2 separate regions of the Homo sapiens genome follow, and region 1 is linked to region 2. Evidence: promoter capture Hi-C in 16 types of primary human blood cells and fetal thymus (Javierre and others, 2016). All regions are on one chromosome and are shown on one strand. The core of a region is centred on a gene start or on the middle of the fragment in contact, and the rest is flanking DNA. Distances in the headings are between cores, read along the strand shown. Region 1 overlaps PKD2L1 (polycystin 2 like 1, transient receptor potential cation channel). Region 2 holds the start of NDUFB8 (NADH:ubiquinone oxidoreductase subunit B8).

Region 1 (2,877 bases), core at 338-2,837, 210 kb after region 2:
GAGACTTTTGGGGAGACGGATAATGCAAAAAAGGTTAAGAAACACTGAACCAGATCCACTTAATTTGGCTAGTCAGTATGCTGACTGAGCTCTCCTGCCTAAGGATTGGGAATACACGTTATAAGCCTGAAAGCTGGCACCAAGCGGGGTGGCTGTTGTGTTGCTCTATCAGGATGCTGTTTTCTAAGAACTGGAGTGACGTGCAGTTGGACATGCAGCTGTGCCAGTGTGCTTTTCCATGTCAGTTCCCATGACCGGGTTCAAATGCTCCAGGACCTGTGTTTATTATTAGGTAAACACAGTGGCATGATGAAAACATAAAAACATTGGAGTCAGACACACTGGATTCAAATACTAGCTCCTCTACTTCCTGGCTTTGTGACCTTGAACAATTGTTCTACCAATAAGGATAATAACATTTATCTTCTGGAGATAACATGCATAAAGAACCAAACACAATCACTGGTAGTAGTTATCTTTGTATTATCTAGTCGAAAATCAAAACCCTCACCTGGTCCTCTAGACTGTTCATTAAAAAAATACCTTTCAAGAGAGAAGCCAATCTGAAAAGGTTACATACTGTGTAATTCCAACTATATGCCATGGTGGAAAAGACAGAACTATGGAGATACTAAAAGTTGTCAGTGGCTTCCAGGGGTTGGGGAAAGAGAAGGACGAATAGGTAAAGCACAGAGGATTTTTAGGGCAGTGAAACTACTCTGTATGGTGAATACCTGTCATTTTACGTAAAACCCACACAATGTACAATACCAAGAGTAAAACCTAAGGTACACTGTGGACTTCAGGTAATAGTCATGTGTCAATGTAGGTCCATTGTATAACAAAGGTACCACCCTGGTGTTGGATGTTGATAGCAGGGGAGGCTGTACTTATGTGAGGACAGGGGATCTATGGGAAATCTCTGCACCTTTCATTCAATTTTGCTGTGAACCTAAAATTACTCTAAAAAAATAAAGTGGGCTGGGCACGGTGGCTCATGCCTGTAATCCCAGCACTTTGGGAGACTGAACTGGACAGACTGCCTGAGGCCAGGAGTTCGAGACCAGCCTGGCCAACATGGTGAAACCCCATCTCTATTAAAAATACAAAAATTAGCCAGGCGTGATGGCGGGCACCTGTAATCCCAGCTACTCAGGAGGCTGAGACAGGAGAATCACTTGAACCTGGGAGGCGGAGGTTGCAGTGAGCTGAGATCATGCCACTGCCCTCCAGACTGGGTGACAGAGAAAGACTCTGTCTCAAAAAATAAATAAATAAATAAATAAAGTTTATCTTAAAAAGTGTATTAAAAACAACTTTTCAGTGCTGCTTGTGGAAACTTGGAAAAAATAACTTTCATGATTGCAGTTAATAATAATGTATTATATCTTTCAAAATAGCTAAAAGAGATGATTTTAAATATTCTCAACACAAAGAAACATTTGAGATGATGGATATGTTAATTAGCCTGATTTGATCATTCCATGATGTATACATCTGAAGAAACATTACATTGCACCCCATAAAGATACAGAGTGAGCCGGGCGCCGTGGCTCATGCCTGTAATCCCAGAACTTCGGCAGACCGAGGCGGGTGGACCACCTGAGATCAGGAGTTCGAGACCAGCCTGGCCAACATGGCAAAACCCCTACTCTACTAAAAATACAAAAATTAGTCGCGTGTGGTGGCACGCTCCTGTAGTCCCAGCTACTCAGGAAGCTGAGGCAAGAGAATCGCTTGAACCTGGGAGGTGGAGGTTGCAGTGAGCCGAGATCGTGCCACTGTACTCCAGCCTGGGCGACAGAGCGAGACTCCATCTCAAAAATAAAATAAAATAAAAGCCGTGATTATTTGTCAATTAAAAGTAAATCAATAAATAACATAAAATTACCTTTCAAAATTTTAGTTGGCTCCACATATAGGGATAGTATTATTTGAGTAGCATCCTTTAAGTGACATCAGACCTTTAAGTGAAAGTACTTTCCCTGGAAGCCCTCAGTTTATCACAACCGCCACCACCACCATCATCATTATTAACAGCACAAACAACAAACCTTTATTGAATAATTTTTCAATGCACCTAGCACTATATTATGTACTTTATCTCACTGACTACTTCCAATGACTCTATGAAATTGGTTCTGCCTATCACTCCCATTTTACAAATCAGAAAGATTTAGAAAAGTCAAACAGCTTGCTCAAGGCCACTCATGCAAGCAAGTGAAGAAAGAGGAATCCAACTCAGCAATTGGTTGCCTGATTTGAATCCCGAGGCTTTTAACCACTGGAGTCTACTATGGCCTCTCTATCTGGAAATGTATTGCTCATAAATTTACTAATACCCATCAACATCTTAGCAAGGACCACTCCGTGCCCTACCCTAATAGAAGCAGAGTATTGAGAAATTCTACTAGCTAACTACTATTCTTTCTTTTTATTGGTGTATTTAAAAGATGATATAAAAACATTAAAGAATATTTTAAAATATAGTTGGCTACCACTACATTAAAGAATTTTTCATTTTTCTTATTACCGGTGTTTATGCATACATTCTTACCTAGTTGTATTATATTGTATACTTTCATCATTTATAACATTTCATCATATTTCTAAGTAGTTTTTTTTTTTTGAGACAGAGTCTGGTTCTTTCACCCAGGCTGGAGTGCAGTGTCCTGCCTCAGCCTCCCGTGTACCTGGGATTACAGGCGCCCACGACCATGCCCGGCTAATTTTTGTATTTTTAGTAGAGACGGGGTTTCACCGTGTTGCCCAGGCTGGTCTGGAACTCCTGACCTCAAGTGATCGGCCCACCTCGGCCTCCCAAAATGTTGGGATTACAGGCGTGAGCCACCGTAGTTTTTGTTTTTGTTGTTGTTG
Region 2 (2,854 bases), core at 135-2,634:
GGATTACAAGTGTACACCACCATGCCCAGCTATTTTTGTATTTTTAGTAGAGATGGGTTTTTGCTGTGTTGGCCAGGCTGGTCTTGAACTCCTAACCTCAAGTAATCTTCCCACCTCAGCCTCCCAAAGTGCTGGGATTACAGGCGTGAGCCACCGCACCCGGCCTAAAAGGGTGAATTTATGGTATGTGAATAATATCTTAATAAAAATAAATAAATTAGATCAACTCTGTTTCTTGACCTAAATTGGATCAGGGTTTGCTATTGGTTGAATGCAGATGTTGTGCAATTATTCTGAACATCAACTAGTGATGTCATTTACAAGACAGCAAGTTGCTGTGTAGTCCTTCCCAAAATTTATATATTAAATAGTATATATCCATATTTGTTTACTTTTTATAACTTAAAAAAAAAGAGACGAAGTCTCACTATGTCACCCAGGCTGGTCTCAAACTCCTGGTCTCCAGCCATTCTCCAACCTAGGCCTCCCAAAGTGTTGGGATTACAGGTGTGAGCCACAGCTCCCAGCTTATATGCATTTTTATTGCTCTGATATATACTTGAGAATGTTTATAATAATAGGTTCTGCTCCAAAACAGTGGTCACCTGAAAAGTCACTGGAAATACGTGCATATTTATAATGTGTAAGTTATTCAAATCCCAAGTGAAAACATTCATATGCAAACATAATAATGTCTCCAATTCTTCTGTTGAGTTAGTTTGTTCATTATGGGCCGGTTTGTAATTTGTTTTATCCAAGTCCTACCAACTCTGAGGCTTTAAGCTGTCTCTGGAGAGCTGCCTCTGGTGATAAGTTTAATTTTACATTTGTTGGGTTGAGGTGACTGAGACATGCAGATGGAAACACGGACTGAAACTAAGGAGCCAATTCAGGGCCGAATTGTGTGTTGCACTGGCGTCTAAGTGAAGATCAACCCATTTGGAGAACAGAACAACAAGCAAGACCAACAGGTGAATTTGAAGAATGATCATGTTTGGGGATGGAAGGAAGTGCCCGTGAAGGAGAGGAAAGCAAGCAGCCAGAGAAGAGAGTAAGACAGGCTCATTTCACTAGTACAGCTCCTGGGGGAGGTGGTTAAGCTGTCTACCTGAGTTGCTCAGGTTCCGAGTTCCCATCATCCCTGGATGGGTCTAAGTCAGCTCAGGGAGAAAAAGGACACAACATTCTGAAATGTCAGAGACCTGCCTGGTTTTCCCTTCTTCCCGCTTATCCTTCCCAGCCTCTATCCAACCCTTGGCTTCCCAACTGCGTATTTAAACCCCGCCCCTGTTGAACCCTTCGGCTTTTCTTCACTCCCGGCTTCCTCCGTCACGTTTGGCCCGGCTCAGCCGCCGTGACAGGCCTTTGCGCATGTGCAGAAGGGAAACGTGAAGAAGGTGAAGATGGCGGTGGCCAGGGCCGGGGTCTTGGGAGTCCAGTGGCTGCAAAGGGCATCCCGGAACGTGATGCCGCTGGGCGCACGGACAGGTCCGCGAGAACGGGCGAGACCTCAGTGTGGGAAGGGGGTACCTGAAATTTGGTGTATCGGGAGGGGGGATCGTAGATGCCGCGGCGGCAGCCTCCGGGTAGGGAGTGGAGGTGGCGTTGATATATCCAGAAAATGGGGTGGAGGATCGCACTGATCCTGCGAAGTCCCGGGCTCGGACCTCTGCAGCCCCTGCGACTTGAAGCCTTCGGAGCGGCTGGAGAGCGGGCTCGCTTCTGACCTGTTCTCTTCTGCGTTCTAGCCTCCCACATGACCAAGGACATGTTCCCGGGGCCCTATCCTAGGACCCCAGAAGAACGGGCCGCCGCCGCCAAGAAGTATAATATGCGTGTGGAAGACTACGAACCTTACCCGGATGATGGCATGGGGTGAGACAGAGAGGGTATGCTCGCACCCAAGTAGTGATGGGAGAAGGCCGGCTGGGTTGGGTGGCTTGACTGTGACCCTTTTTCCCGAACCTTCTCGTGACCCCTCAGAGTCAATGGAGTGGGTGCTTTTCTCTGTGGAGGGAGGTGGGAGGGGGGTGGGTGAGCAGCTGCAGCTGAGAGGACTTCAATTTTCTCCTTGGCTCAGGCTGTTTCCTCAAATGAGGAAGCCGAGGTTTTAATGGCTCCCTCGAGGACCCCCGAATAGCAGGAGCCTTCCTTGGCTCTATCCAGAGCGTCGAGTTTCATTTAGATTGAGCATCTGCTGCGCTCAGGTGCTGTCATCCAGGCATGTGACCAGGCTGGAGCTGGACTCCTGTCATGAGAATCTTATTTGTAAACGGAGTACTCTATATTTGTGTGTATGTCTCTTTAAAAAAAATGTTTTTCTGTTAGTGCTGTGGAAATCGTAGCAACTATTAAGCAGATTAAACAGCCAGCCCCCTTACGTACTCCAGTTGATGTTATCCTATCCCTTCCACACTCTTCCGTATCCATACCCACATAACATCCCAATGGTTAATTATCTGAAGTGATTATCATCGCCTTTATTTCCTGTCCTAATGTCACTCTTTCAATCTTGGTTTCAGCAACTTCTATTCTTCTTGTTATACACTCATTTTCTGTAGCATATGTCTAGTTGTCATCATTTCCTGTTTTTTCTTATGTTGTGGACAAGAGCAGCCTTGTTCGAAGCCAGTGTCAGATGAACCTGGATTTGTTGGGGAAAACCCAGCTTAGCAAGAGGTCCCATGAGGTGTTTGAGACGCAGAGATGAATGCCAACTGGGTGGTCAAGAACACAGTTATTACGAGAAGAGTGCTTTTCTAATCTGTACCCTTTTTGTTTTTATTCCAATTAGCTGGGTGACTTTGGATTCAGACTCTAAACTTTAATTTTTCATTTTCTATCTAATGAGGGA

What was found. Contacts are between HindIII fragments. The CHiCAGO score rates a contact against its expected background, and 5 or more counts as called.
Region 1: a contact is called between a fragment that was not itself captured here and the fragment with the promoter of NDUFB8 in region 2, in 4 of 17 cell types (naive CD4 T cells, naive CD8 T cells, activated CD4 T cells and 1 more). The highest score is 8.9, in naive CD4 T cells.

The regions. Positions count from the first base shown.
Region 1 is chr10:100,322,230-100,325,106 of GRCh38, reverse strand. All of the region lies in intron 2 of PKD2L1 (polycystin 2 like 1, transient receptor potential cation channel), which reads left to right. Among named protein-coding and RNA genes, the nearest start is that of PKD2L1, 6.6 kb to the left of the region's middle. The HindIII fragment of the contact is 7,904 bases long and covers 1-2,877 here.
Region 2 is chr10:100,528,401-100,531,254 of GRCh38, reverse strand. NDUFB8 (NADH:ubiquinone oxidoreductase subunit B8) reads left to right here and starts at 1,384. Exons shown (of 5, transcript NM_005004.4): 1 at 1,384-1,488; 2 at 1,749-1,875. The coding sequence starts at 1,404. RefSeq lists enhancers at 912-961, 1,095-1,677, 2,520-2,689. The HindIII fragment of the contact is 5,505 bases long and covers 1-2,854 here.